Linked DNA regions of Homo sapiens: region 2 is linked to region 1. The links are contacts of gene promoters, found by promoter capture Hi-C in blood cells and fetal thymus (Javierre and others, 2016). All regions are on one chromosome and are shown on one strand. Each heading gives the region's core, a stretch centred on a gene start or on the middle of the fragment in contact. The rest is flanking DNA. Distances are from core to core; before and after follow the strand shown.

What was found. Contacts are between HindIII fragments. The CHiCAGO score rates a contact against its expected background, and 5 or more counts as called.
Region 2: a fragment that was not itself captured here is called in contact with the fragment with the promoter of ADGRL1-AS1 in region 1 in 2 of 17 cell types (naive CD4 T cells and fetal thymus); the score reaches 8.1 in naive CD4 T cells.

What each region holds. Positions count from the first base shown.
Region 1 is chr19:14,133,453-14,140,742 of GRCh38, forward strand. It overlaps ADGRL1-AS1 (ADGRL1 antisense RNA 1), which reads left to right and starts at 3,700. Exons shown (of 3, transcript NR_045214.1): 1 at 3,700-3,771. ASF1B (anti-silencing function 1B histone chaperone) reads right to left here and starts at 3,137. Exons shown (of 4, transcript NM_018154.3): 1 at 2,896-3,137. The coding sequence starts at 3,004. RefSeq lists a silencer at 2,903-2,952 and enhancers at 3,283-3,422, 3,500-4,126, 3,623-3,782. The HindIII fragment of the contact is 2,792 bases long and covers 3,327-6,118 here.
Region 2 is chr19:14,514,549-14,521,838 of GRCh38, forward strand. It overlaps DNAJB1 (DnaJ heat shock protein family (Hsp40) member B1), which reads right to left and starts at 3,849. Exons shown (of 3, transcript NM_006145.3): 1 at 3,591-3,849; 2 at 1,918-2,498; 3 at 221-1,622. The coding sequence starts at 3,801. The coding sequence ends at 1,392. RefSeq lists silencers at 3,131-3,700, 3,911-4,230 and an enhancer at 5,143-5,872. The HindIII fragment of the contact is 508 bases long and covers 3,383-3,890 here.

The DNA.
Region 1 (7,290 bases), core at 2,450-4,949:
AGGTCAGGAGTTCAAGACCAGCCTGGCCAAGATGGTGAAACCCCGTCTCTACTAAAAATACAAAAATTAGCCAGGCGTCATAGCAGGCACCTGTAATCCCAGCTGCTCGGGAGGCTGAGGCAGGAGAATCGCTTGAATCTGGGAGGTGGAGGTTGCAGTGAGCCAAGATCGCGCCATTGCACTCCAGCCTGGGGGACAAGAGCAAGACTTCATCTCCAAAAAAACAAAAAAAGGACCAGCAGGTTGAATTTAGCCCTTCCGGCTCTAATTCTATAAATAAGTTAGTAAAGTCACAGGGCAGGGGCTTCCTAGGAGTAGAAGTACCAGATAATGACCGCACAACCATTTTTTTTTTTTTTTTTTTTTTTTGAGACGGAGTCTCGCTCTGTCGCCCAGGCTGGAGTGCAGTGGCGCGATCTCGGCTCACTGCAAGCTCCGCCTCCCGGGTTCACGCCATTCTCCTGCCTCAGCCTCCCGCGTAGCTGGGACTACAGGCGCCCGCCACCACGCCCGGCTAATTTTTTGTGTTTTTTAGTAGAGACGGGGTTTCACCGTGTTAGCCAGGATGGTCTCGATCTCCTGACCTCGTGATCCGCCCGCCTCGGCCTCCCAAAGTGCTGGGATTACAGGCGTGAGCCACCGCGCTCGGCCACAACCATTTTTAAATGCAAGGAACACAAACAGGCTGATTGAAACCTGATCTCCTGCCGTCGGGGAGCTGGGAATCCCTCAACCTATTACTTCCTTCCATCTCCTCCTGGCTTTTAAATTAAATCTTATTCCACAGCGTCATTCTACACTTTATTTATTTATTTACCCGCTGCCTTGTTCCAGAAAGGATTTAACTCGGCATATTCTATAGTTAGCCACAAGTAGACTCCTTAATTTAAAAAGGAGCGAGAGAGACCGGGGAGAGACAGACCCACTGGCCTACCCAAAGCACATCCACATCTCACTCTATCAGCTCCAAGCTAGTCCAGGCGACCAGCTTTGAGGGCAAAACACCTACCTGCCCCCGAGAGGCACTAGTTAGCATATCCTGGCTTCACAGGCCCCCAGATCACCACCTCCTCGGCTGCTGCCTTTTCTCTTTCAACCACCAAGTAGAAAAATGGCCTAATGGAGTACTTCTTCCTGAAAGCAGGACTTGCCTGTTAGTGGTGCCAAGGCTCCCTAGGTGACCTTAGATTTTGGATTTGTACAGGCCTTGACTTGAAAGGTCTTTTGCGTTTTGTGGCTCCTGTCTTCTCATCTGTGAGATGAGAGCCATGCCCACCTTTAAGTCACACAGATTAATAAGTACATCTACGGAAGCACCTTGGAAAAGATGTACAGGAGGCTGTGACCTCCAAGCTCCAGCCGACTGTTTGAAGCTGGAGCCCGTCACAGCTCAGCCCAATCCACCCACCCCCCAGACTAGGTCAGACCATCAAAAGCAACGGGAGCTTGGCACTGATTATCCAGCTATATTAAAAAAAAAAAAGAAGAAGACGGGGCACGGTGGCTCACGCCTGTAATCCCAGCACTTTGGGAGGCCAAGGCGGGTGGATCACTTGAGGTCAGGAGTTCGAGACCAACCTGGCTAACATGGTGAAACGCTGCCTCCACTAAAAATACTAAAATTAGCTGGGCGTGGTGACAGGCGCCTGTAGTCCCAGCTACTCGGGAGGCTGAGGCAGAAGAATCGCTTGAACTCGGGAGGTGGAGGTTGCAGTGAGCCGAGATCGTGCCATTGCACTCCAGCCTGGGCAACAGAGTGAGACTGTCTCAAAAAAAAAAAAAAAAAAAAGAAGAGGAAGAAGAAGAAAGAAAAAGTGACAGAAAAATTGCTGCAGTAACTCAGCTGGAAACGGGTGGGCAAACCTGGAGAACTAGCTAATGCCTGCCTGGCTATGCCACCCCTCGGATCTCAGTGTGTTTATCCAAGCCCACAGAGAAAGGTGGGGAAGGGGAGCTGGGGAGACAAAGTTCCCCTCAAAGACGGTAGCATCCTTTCCCAGGGAGAGCTCAAGCATAGGGGGGTTGGGCCCCAACGAAGGAGAGAAACCAGGTTCCAGGGTATGTGCATTGGGGCAGAAAAGCGGCAGCAACTGGTGGGCGTGGGGTTATTGAAATATTGGCAGGTTGGGGAGGGGACTGGTGGGACACAAATGGGAAGATGGGGTTGAGAGAGGTCCTGAAAAGGGGTTGAGGGGTTTTCACAGGAAAAAAAGGTTACTGGAGGGGAGGGTCTTCACGGCAAGGAGAGAGGAGCTTGGGTGAGAGGTCTCCATAGGGAAAATAGGAGATGGCTGGGATTTCCCCCGGGGAAAATGGGAAGGGGCTGGATATTGGGGGTCTCCAGAGGGAAAATGGGAGGTGTGAGTATCTCACTACAGGAAAGAGGGAATAAGTGGGCAAAAATGGGTGGGTGGTTGAAGCGGGGGTCTTGCCACAGGGAAACCACGGTGGCTGAAGATCTCCGTGGGTTAAGAAATGGAGGCCGAGAAGGTCTCCCCATGAAAACGGGTACCTAGGAAGAGCTCCAGAGAAAAAAGATGGATGAGGTTCCCCACGCGGGAAATGGGGCTTGGAGGGGGTTAATCTCTATGGGGAGGTCGGGGCGGGCAGTGGGGGAAGAGGCCACTGGGAGGTCCGAGTTAGCTGGCGGGGGGTCTCCACCCGGGAGGTCAAGGCGGGCAGTGGGGGAGGAGGTCACGGGGAGGTCCGTGTTGGCTGGTGGCGGGGGGTCTCCACCGGGAGATCCGGTTGACTGGCGGGCTGGGGGAGATCGGGGTTGGCGGAAGGGGGACGAGGGGTTTCATGGGGGAGATCAAGTTGGCCATGGGAGCGGTTCTCTGAGGGGAGGCCGGGGTCGGCCCGGGGGTGGGGGTCCCCGCACAGGCCCAGCCTCACCGTCCGCCAGGGCTTCACTGCACTCGAAGCTGATCTCGAACCGGAAGGGGCTGTGGAAAGGGCTCGGGTTCTCCAGGACCGCCACGTTCAGCACCGACACCTTGGCCATCGCCTCGCCTCGCCGCGCCGCAGCAGGGGCAGGGGCTGTGGCTGTGGCGGAGGCCGCGCCTGGGTCCGGTGGGGTCAGTGGGGTAGGGCTGACCAGGTCCACTCCCGCCTCTTCTCTCCGAGAACTGAAGTGCGCACCTAGTCCGCGCGCCGCCTTCAAATAGCCGGCCTCCGCCCTCTGGCCAATCACCGCCAACGCTCCCTGGCGGCGCGCGCACCCCCTCAGCCAGTCCTGGAGCGCCGATCGGCGCGCGCCCAGACTCCTCGGACCAATCAGCGGAGCTCCCTCTCCGCAGCGTGTGAGGAGGGCGAAACTATCTCCAAGCTTCTTAGCGTGTCCGCTGGAAACCAATCCCCAGCGTCTCCGACTTGGATGTCAACGGCGGGAATGGACGGAGTCACAGCGCCGGCCTCCTTCTGGCCAATCCTGAGGGTTCCCGCACCGGCGTGGCCCGCCCCTCGCCTCGCTTTTCCGGGAGATGCATCCCGCAGCGCGCAGCGCCGCCACCCGCCGAGCGGTGGCGCGCGGCGCTCGCTAAAGAAGGCGGGAAGGGCGGTGCTCGCACCCGAAGTGATTGGCAGGAGGGAGTGGGGCGGAGATAAAGAGGGTTTTCTGAGAGTTTATTGGCTGGATTGGTAATGGTGGCGGGAGCAGAAGGAGGCTCAGCTGGGGATTCGCTGGAGAGAAGCGGAAGTCGAGCGCCACCGCGGTGTTGGCGAGTGTGAAGAGAGAGGAGGAGCGTTTGCGGCCTCAGCGTCTGTCAACAGGTGAGCGTTTCCTGGAGCTTTTCTGAGTGGCTCCTGACCCTTGAGGTCCAGCGGCGCGGGAGTCCGTTGTGAACGTTGCGAACGTTCGGAGTGGCGGTCACGAGGCGCGCTCAGACCTCGGGAATCCGGCCGGGTTCGGATCCCGCTTTCGCCCCCGAGGGGTTCGGATCCCGCTCTCGCCCCCGAGGGGTTCGGATCCCGCTCTCGCCCCCGAGGGGTTCGGATCCCGCTCTCGCCCCCGAGGGGTTTGGATCCCTCTCTCGCCCCCTTGAGGGCTCTTGGGAGGTTTCAAGCGGACGGTACTGAAAATGGGAGTTCCAGTTCGGGGGCAGACCAGTGTTCAGAGTCCGGGCTCTGCTACTCAGCGCCCGAGGCAGCGCCTCCCCATTCAACGGGGGCCGTGGCAATTCCCTGACATGATTCATGACCACATAATACATCCGGAAACTTCTCTCCACCGCCTCCCGTCTGGGCCGTCGCCCCCGGCCTGGGAGACTCCAGGTCTCAGAGTCTCTGCCCCCACGGGCGATCAGTGCTGCCCAGTGGAAAAATAATGCCAGCCGCGCACCAAAATTAGGTGTAAAATTAACATTTTTTGGAAGCCACTTTTTTTTTTTTGAGATGGAATCTCGCGCTGTCACTCAGGCTGGAGTGCAATGGCGCGATCTCGGCTCACTGCAACCTCTACCTCCCGGGTTCAAGCGATTCTCCTGCCTCAGCCTCCTGAGTAGCTGGGATTACAGGTGCCCACCACCACAACCAGCTAATTTTTTTTCTGTATTTTCAGTAGAGACGGGGTTTCACCATGTTGGCCAGGCTGGTCTCGAACTCCTGACCTCAAGTGATCCGCCCGCCTCGGCCTTCCAGAGTGCTGGGATTACAGGCGTGAGCCACTGTGCCCGGCCATATCTTTTTTTATTATTATTTGTAATTTTAGAGGCTGGTCATGGAGGATTTCTTGAGGCCAGGAGTTCAAGATCAGCCTGGGCAACATAACAAGACCTCATATCTACAAAAAATAAAAGAATAAGCCAGGTGTGGTAGTGCATACCTGTAGTGTCTGCTACTCCTGAAGCTGAGGCAGGAGGATCTCTTGAGCCCAGAATGCTCCAGCCACTGCACTCCAGCCTGAGTGTCAGAGTGAGACCCTGTCTCTAAAAATTAAAATTAAATTTTAAAAAAGAAAGTTCAGTTTAGCTGTCTTGATAGCCGCAGTTGAGTGCTCCTGAGCCCGTGTGACAAGTGGCTCCTGTATTACTGGACAGCGAAGGTCAGAAACACATTTGACCAGGTCACTTCTCCGGATGAGAGCATTGTCTTTGAAACTCTATGCTTTGTCTCCTGTTAACCACCCAGCTCCAACTTCAAACCAGGCTAAGTAACCCTCTTTTTGTTAAAATTCTGACAAGCCACTCCCAGTGCAAAGCCTCTGCCCAGAACCTCTTCTCCTAGGCTCTTGGCATGGCTTATGCCTTCTTGTCATTCAAGTCTCTGTTCAAATGTCCTCTCCCCAGAGAGGCCTTTCTAAGGGTGCTCTGGACAGTGTTCAAACTCACAGGCCGTACGCCTGAACAGCACTGAGCCAAGGCACTAGTATTTCTTACCCAGTCACCTCTGTGGGCTCACTAGGACTCACTCACTGTGCTAGTATGTTTTCCTTTTCCTTTTCTTTTTAAACAATCCAGTTCCTGTGGGATTTTTTTTTTTTAATAGAGGTCTGTTGCCCAGGCTGGAGTGCAAGTGGCATAATCGTGGCTCACTATAACCTGGAACTCTTGGGCTCAAGTGATCCTCCCACCTCAGCCTCCCGAGTGGCTGGGATCACCAGTGCGTGCCACCATGCCTAATTTGTTTTATTTTATTTTATTTTTTTTTTGAGAGGGAGTCTTGCTCTGTCACTCAGGCTGGAATGCAGTGGCGCAATCTCAGCTCACTGCAACCTCCTGCTTCCAGCTTCAAGCGATTCTCCCACCTCAGCCTCCCGAGTAGCTGGGACTACAGGCACACGCTACCTTACCCAGCTAATTTTTGTATTTTTAGTAAAGATGGGGTTTCACTATGTTGGCCAGGCTGGTCTCAAACTCCTGACCTCAGGTGATCCACTCACCTCGGCCGCCCAAAGTGCTGAGATTACAGGCATGAGCCACCGTGCCCTGCCTCTTATACTTTTTAAATTTTTTGTAGAGACAGGGTCTCGCTGTTGCCCAGGCTGGTCTTGAAACTCCTGGCCTCAAGCAGTCCACCTATCTTGTCCTTAAGTGCTGGGATTACAGCGCCTAGCCCATTTTTGGTATCTACATCTCACATTAAGTTAAGAAAAATTCTTTTTAGCTGTTAAAAAATCGAAAGCTTTGTTTTTATTCTTTTGAAATTATTTGGCTTCAAGGAAACTCACATTTATGATTCGCTTGATTTCTTGGCAATCATTGCATACTTAGGGATATTTGTGATTTGAGAAAATCTAATTTCCAAATGTAATTCGATTGCTTATGAATACTAAATTTAATGATTAATGCAGTTGTCATGATGTCACATTTCTAGATGCTTAATTAAACATTTATTCATTCCAACTTTGTAGTTTTCTCTTTGCATTGTGGAACTTTTTTCCCTTTATCCCTGTCCCTGACCTTTTCGTAGCCCCTGAGAAGCTCATGATCCACCAGCATTATTTCCGTGGCGCTAATGAAGAATGTGGCCCTGTCTATGATGCATTCTCCTTACAGCTGGCTGAATGATCTTCACTTGTAAACCAGATCATGTCATTACTCTGCTTAAAACCTTCAGAGGCTTATCCTACTTAGAATGAAACCTAAGATCTTTCCTATGGCTTAGGCGGCCCTGCGTGGTGGCCTCAGCTGACCTCTCAGGCCTCATCTACCATTCTTCCTCTTGTCACCGCTCTCAAGCCCAGCTGGCTTTATTTCCCTTCTTTCAACACACCCAGCTTATTTCTGCCGCAGGGCTTTGCACTTGCCGTTCCCTCTGCCTGGAATGTGCTTCCTCCAGATAATTGCATGGCTGTCTCTTTCTCTTCGCTTGTGGTTCAGCTCAAATGTCCTCTGAAAGAAGACTTCCCAGAGTACCCTATTTAAAGTAGCACTTTCTTGGCCGGGCGCGGTGGCTCATGCCTGTAATCCCAGCACTTTGGGAGGCCAAGGCAGGCGGATCACGAGGTCAGGAGATCGAGACCATCCTGGCTAACATGGTGAAACCGCATCTCTACTAAAAATACAAAAAATTAGCCGGGCGTGGTGGCGGGCGCCTGTAGTCCCAGCTACTTGGGAGGCTGAGGCAGGTGAATCGCTTGAATCTGAGAGGTGAGGGTTGCAGTGAGCTGAGATCGTGCCTCTGCAATCCAGCCTGGGTGACAGAGCAAGACTCCGTGTCAAAAAAAATAAATAAATAAATAAAGTAGCTTTTTCTTAATCACATCACTCAGTTTTATGATCTTAGTAACGCATATCAGAATTTGTACTTATTTTCGGGTGGGCATGGTGGCTCACACCTATAATCCCAGCA
Region 2 (7,290 bases), core at 2,387-4,886, 380 kb after region 1:
CCACTGTGCTTGGGTCTCTGGTTTTTTGGACCCCGAGTCTGGGTAGAAGTTCTCCAACCCACTTATGGCTGAGGAAGGGAGACTTACGTTTCCCTTGCAGGGCACTTGCCTCCTGCCCATCCCACCCTCTCACCTTGATTGAATTTGGAAGGATGCCCAGCTCCCCACTCCACCCCCAAAACCAGCAGAACCCTCAAACAGAGTCACAGGACCGCTCCCCTGAGGTTTAGCATCAGTCTTTAATGCTGTCGCACTTCATTGACTAGTCACACACTTTGGTCTCATGTTGGCAGTGGCAACTTACAATGAGTCTAAAGGTCTGAGCACTGGACTGGCCTCCAGGGAACAGACATTTGTTCCAACTCCCCTTCCCTCCCCAAGATTTCTTCAGAATTCCATTATGGCCCTATACAGAGAGCACTGGCTGCCGGGGACAGGTTTTGAGTGTACACCAACTATACATGGAATTATAAAAACATATTTACAGACGTTCCACAGTGCTCCTGTAATCAGAAGCAAAGACCCTTTTATCAAAAGGGATTGTATCTAGGGCTGTGCAAAATTCAAAAGGATCAGATCCCTTTGAAAGAGTCCATAGTCCATGAAACAAAAAATTACCTGGGCCACTGGTAAGCCCCACGTGTGCCAAGATTGCCTTACAGAAATGTAAAGAGTGTGACCCACAAAGTGAGGACATTCAGCTTCACTGGAGCCAGAGGTCAGGAAGGCCCCTTGCTGAGGCCAGGCTCCCAGACCATCAAGGGAGAGGTGGCTGCACTTGCTGGAGTCACTCACTGGAGGCTGGCTCCCTTGGTCCTGCTGGAACGAGAGGTATTGCTTGTGGACGCCAACCAGGCAGTTCTGCAGGAATAGTTTAGGTTCTCAATTTGAGATGGCCAAAGAGAAGACAGAATTCTCCAGGAGAAGAGCAAGACATGGGAGACAAATACAGAATAAAGCACAAACTGATCACACAACAGAAAAGGAGGAGTGTACAGGGTCTGGGAATCAAGACTGCAGGTTGACATTATCTACCAGCCAGAAGCAAAAAGACACAGAGGGATCAAGTCCATCTGCTGGTCTGCCTCTCACCCCTGGCCAGGGACTGGAGGTGGATGTGGGCCCATCCCGGGAGGGCTGCCAGACCCAGTGGGGCAGACTGGAATGCCTTTTCCTGCTGTTCCCACCACCTGATGCCCTATAGCTCGAAAAACCACTGAAGTCTAGTGTGCGACTTTGAAAGATTGTAATATATGCTCTGGAAAACATTCAGCAGTACGAAAGCCCTCCCTGGGCCCTCCCACCCTCTCATGGTCCACAACTGGTAGAAAGGTCCAGAAATCCTTGAGCTCTGGAAAGGTCCCTGGTCAGTCCTTGGGGAGCTCAGATAGCTATATTGGAAGAACCTGCTCAAGTACGGTTCTTGATGTCTGGGGAATCCTTTCGGGGAAGATCACTTCAAACTCAATAATGAGGTCCCCACGTTTCTCGGGTGTTTTGGGGAGGGGGAGGCCTTCTCCAGGAACTTTTCGCCGCATGCCAGGCCTGATAACATCTTTGAATACGACGGGTATCGTCCTGCCGTCCAGAGTGGGGACGTTCACTGTGCAGCCACACAGAGCCTTGAAAAGCAAAAGGACAGCATTAGATGGAAGCTGGCTCAAGAGGCTCAGCTCTTGCCCAGAGGCCGTCTGCCATAGATAAGACCCATCAGGCCTCTGCAGCTAAGACCTGGCCCCCAAATCTACACGTCCCCACCACGAAAGCTCCACAACAGCGCCCTGGTCAGTCCTGTTCACTGTTGTGCCCCAAGCCTGGCACGCACCACACACCCCAACACATTGGTTCAGCAAATACTAAACTGCTTCAAAAAGCAGCCATCGCCCTCTACAGACACCGCCCCACCTGGCACCTTACCTCCCGGAGGCTGATCCTGGCAGGATAAATGACATCAGAGCCATCTCTCTTAAAGATATTGTGGGGCTTGTCCTTTAAAACAAAGACGATATCAGCTGGAATGTTGTTGGAGGTCTGGTCTCCTTCCTTGGGGAAAGTGATTTTGGTTCCTTCTTTCCACCCCTTCTTCACTTCGATGGTCAATATTTTGTCTTCGTTTCGAATGCTCTTTCCGTCGGGGTTTAGCCGCTTGTGGGAGATTTTCATCTTCTTGGTACAGCCGCTGTAGATCTCTTCAAGGGAGACTCGAAGGTCGTGGGTGACTGGGGGATCTTGCTTCTTTCGGGCGGGCTCTTGGGCAGAGCGGGAGCGGCCAAAGTTCACGTTGGTGAAGCCACCCATGCCCATAGGGAAGCCAGAGAATGGGTCATCAATGTCCATGCCTTCCTCCCCGTTCCGCTGCCCAAAAAAGGTGTCAAAGGGATTTCTGCCACCGAAGAACTCAGCAAACATGGCATGAGGGTCTCCATGGAATGTGTAGCTGAAAGAGGTACCATTGGCACCACCGCCGCTACCGCCACTGGGGCCACTCCCCTTTAGGCCTGAAAAGCAGATTTAGAAGCAGTCAGATGGCTGAACAGCAGACTCTCTCTCGAGCTTCCCTTACAGGGGGAAACAGCTTGGAAGCCATGGGGGAGGAACTTTTTTGTCTGTCAGGGGAGAGCAAGGAAGAACCCCAAGTTTCTACCTCTCACTGCCAACAGCAGAGACGCCCCCCTACCAACAGTATTTCCGCGTAGCCTGACAGTGGAAAAGGACTCATGCGGTTAGGTGTTCACCTCCAGGTGCCACCTAGGCCCTGCCACTCCTGGACTGACCCATCCTCCTGGCAACATCACCAAGAGATGGCTAAAGACACATGGTCCAGGGTCGGCTTTCGGTAAGTGTTTACTCTCAACGTTTTAGGGCTAATGGTGCGTAGGAAGAGAAGAAAAAAAAAAACAAAAATAAATAGGGAGTTTTTAAATCCTCACACATTAGCATTCACTGCCACCATCCTTGCACAAAAAGTCAGCTCCAGATCAAGCCCAGAAGCCAGCCTGAATCATCAACGGGCACAGGAACAAAAAGCCCTGCTCTCCTTACCCTCCGAGGCGGCCCCGCTCTCCGGACCTGGGCGGCCGCTGCCTCCTGCGTGCCCTGCCGGGGCCAGGTCATCACTTCCCGGGAATTATCCCAACCCAGCCCCCAAGCCCACGAACGGGGTCGGCTCCTGCATTCACAACCCCTCGCCCCGCAGCTGAGCCGGAGGCGCCGCCCCGCGGACCCCGGCGGCCGAGCCCAGGTGAGCCCGGGTCCGCAGCGGGCTCCGCCGCGCCGTCCCCGTCGTCACCCCCGGCTCCCCCACCCCCATGCACCGCACCCCGGGGCTGCTCGGGGCCGCGGGAGGAGGCGCCCGGGGAGGGGCAGCCCCAGACATGCTAGAAGCTTCTGGCCGAGCGGCTGGGCCAAGGCTCCTCCTCCCACCGCGCGGCCGCCAATCCGAGGGCGGAGGCCCGCGAGGCCGGAGGGCGGGGCAGCTCGGCCCCACGGCCCGGGGCGTCCTTCCCGGGGGGCCGCCGAGAGGGGCCAGCGTGCCTCAGTTTCCCTGTCTGTCAAAAGGCGGGGCCGCGCCCCTGGCCGCGAGCACACACCTTCCTCCCCGTAGCGGTCGAAGATCTCGCGCTTGCGCGGGTCGCTGAGCACGTCGTAGGCCTCAGCGATCTCCTTGAACTTCTCCTCGGCGCCGGGCTCCTTGTTCTTGTCCGGGTGGTAGCGCAGCGCCTGGCGGCGGTAGGCCCGCTTGATCTCCTCGTCCGACGCGCCGCGGGCCAGGCCCAACGTCTGGTAGTAGTCTTTACCCATGACCCCCTCCTGCGGCCCGCCGACCCGCTGTCGCCGTCCCCCGGCTCCGCCGCCGACCAGTCCCGGACTCTATATACCCGTCCGGCGGAAGCTTCCAGAGCCCGCCAGCCCCCTCCAGAACCTTCCGCCCCGCCCGCCCCCGCGGCGCCGGCCAATCGCCGCCGCCCTTTCAGCGACACGCGACATCCGGGGCGGGGCCTCGCCGTCAACGGCCGCCCGCGCGGGGCCACGCCCCCTCCCGCTCCGCCCTCGGCAACACCTCCCCGCGGCGCGCGCGCACAGGTCGGAGGAGGCCCCGCCCACCTTTCGGGACGAGCCAATCGCGACCTTCTTTCCCTCTCTACGCGGCCCCAGCTACCCTGCGTCCCGCCCTCCGCCTGGGTCAGTAGGTCGGGACCCACAGCGAACTTGCTGTTCCAGGAAGGGGTGGGGCCTGGGACTACCCAGTCCTTTCCCCGGGAGGCGATGAACCTGCTCGCCCTTGTCTCGTGGGGCCTGCGGTGGGCTCCCGCCCGGTGACGCCGGACGAACTACCTAACCTGTGTCTGCCTAACCCAGGGGCCCCCTTCTATCTACAACATGGCAATAAGAGAACCTATCAGGCCGGGCGCGGAGCCTCATGCCTGTAATCCCATCACTTCCTGAGGCCAAGACAGGAGGATCTCTTGAGCCTAGGAGTTGGAGACCAGCCTAGGCAACATAAGGAGACTCCGTTTCTATTTAAGATTAACAAACAGGCCGGGCGCGGTGGCTCACGCCTGTAATCCCAGCATTTTGGGAGGCCGAGGCGGGCGGATCACTTGAGGTCAGGAGTTCGAGACCAGCCTGGCCAACATGGTGAAACCCCATCTCTGCTAAAAATATAAAAATTACCCGGGCGTTGGTGGCACGAACCTGTAATCCCAGCTACTCAGGAGATTGAGGCCTGAGAATAGCTTGAATCGGGGAGGCGGAGGTTGCAGTGAGCCGAGATCCGGCCGTTGCACTCCAGCCTCGGCAACAGAGCGAGACTCCGTCTCATAAATAAATAAAATAAGTAAAATAAAGTAAAATGAACAAAAAACCCACCAGCGCTATTCTCCCAACCGTGGGGAGAAGGATTTTGGGACGGAAGACTGCCTCTGTTCTCACCTCCTAAAGCAAGGTGAGGATCTGGACGGAAGCGCATCTCCCAAGGTCCTCCCAGTCCCGCCTTCTTCCCTTTACTGCCCTCTCAAGATCACTTGCCGCTAAATTTGAAATTTATCTTGTCTCTTGGCTTTCAATGTGTCTTCCCTCCCAGTCTGACATCGCCACCTGGGCAGGGGCCAGGTCCTGTCTGCACTGGGTCCCCAGTGCCTGGAACGCAGTGAGAACCTCATAAATATTCCCCGTTCTTACACACGTGCTTCTTTTTCTTCCCCAACTACCTTTATAATTTGGGGGGACATAGGTGTGTCACACACCTTTCAAGGCCTCTGTTTCCTCAATTGTAGGCAACACGATCGCGTTTGGCTCTGAAAGTCTGGGGTGCCTCTGTCAAGGACAGAGCTGATGGGAAAAGGAGGCTCAGAAAGGGGTTCCACCTGGGAAGGGCCCAGGGAAGTGGGGGAGGTTCCTGGAAGAACTGCCTGGGAGGTCAGAGCCATGTAACACTGGCTCTGGAACCAGACAGCTGGGCTTCATTCCCAGCTCCAGCATTTCCCGGCTGGGTAACCTTGGGTTAGTTACTAGGCCTTTGCTGGCCTTAGCTTCCTCATCTGCACAATGAGGAATGAGGATAGCAGTTGTGCCCACATCATGAGGGCTTTGAAGTTTATATGAGTCAACATTTGCAAAGTGCTCAGAGCAGGCATGGCACAAAGGAAGCATTGTCAAAGGGGTGACTAACCATTTTCTTAGTGGTGGGCTCTTCAGCCATCACCTCATTCCTGGCAGCTAAAAGATTCCAGTGACAGCTGCCCCTGGGCAGACAGGGACTCCTGAAGAAGAAGACCATCCTCCTGCCTCCTGAGGCGGGAGGATCTCTTGAGCCCAGGAATTTGAGGCTGCAGGCAGCTATGATTGTGCCACTGCACTCCAGCCTGGGTGACAGTGAGACCCTCAGCCTCCCCATAAAAAAGTTACATAAATAACTATCAGGAGCATCATGGCGGATAGTTACATAAATAACTATCAGGAGCATCCAGCAGGCAGATCTGGTTCTCTTGGCCCACTCAATGATCTCTGAGGTAACTGCATCAGCAAGAACTCTGGACTAGAACTGGACAACCCGGGAGGATGGGGCTGAAATTCCCTAGACATCGAGAACCATACTTGAGCAGGGGTCCTGAAGCAATTATGGGGAGAGAGAACTTGATATTTTTTAAAAAGTTACTAGGCTGGGCACAGTGGCTCACGCCTGTCATCCCAGCATTCTGGGAAGGTGAGGTGGGAGGATCTTTTGAGGCCAGGAGTTCCAGCCTGGGCAACATAGTGAGACCCCATCTATACAAAAAATTAAAAATAAAAAAAATTAGCCGGGTGCAATGATGTGAGCCTGTAGTCCCAGCTACTCAGTGGACCAAGGTAGGAGGATAGCTTGAGCCCAGGAATTTGAGGCTGCAGTCAGCTATGATTGTGCCACTGCTCTCCAGCCTGGATGACAGTGAGATCCTGAACCTCCCCATAAAAAAATTATATAAATAACTATCAGGAGCATTATGGGGAAAAACTCAGAGCTTGTGACTTTATAAACTAGTATTTTATAATATAAATTTAATTTAGAATTACAAGTGCAGCAGCCTCCAAAGGCTTTAACATGGCTCTGGGTGGGCCTTTCTGGTTGTTCTAAAGTTTCTTGCCATAGGCCAGGCACGGTGACTCAACGCCTATAATCCCAGCACTTTGGGAGGCTGAGGCAGGTGGATCACCTGAGGTCAGGAGTTCGAGACCAGTCTGGCCAACGTGGTGAAACCCCGTCTCTACTAAAAATACAAAAATTAGTCGGGTGCGGTGGCAGGTGCCTGTAATCCCAGCTACGCTGGAGGCTGAGGCATGAGACTCGCTTCAACCCGAGAGGCAGAGGTTGCAGTGAGCCAAGATCGTGCCACTGTGCTCCAGACTGGGTGACAGAGTGAGAGTTTCAAAATAATAATAATAATAATAATAATAATAATAATAAAAGTTTCTTGACACACTGGAGGGGAACATTTTGCTAAAAACACTGCGGAAGGGATGTCTTTGTGCTTGGGGTCAGTGTTAGAGCTGGGAACTCTCCCCTCCTTGAGTAAGCCTGGGTCATGTTCAGGAAGTTTTGTTTGTTTGTTTTGAGATGGAGTTTCACTCTTGTAGCCCAGGCTGGAGTGCAGTGGCACGATCTCAGCTCACTGCAACCTCCGCCTCCTGGGTTCAAGTGATTCTCCTGCCTTAGCCTCCCAAGTAGCTAGGACTACAGGTGCTTGCGACCATGCCTGGCTAATTTTTGTAGTTTTAGTAGAGATGGGGTTTCACCATGTTGGCCAGGCTGGT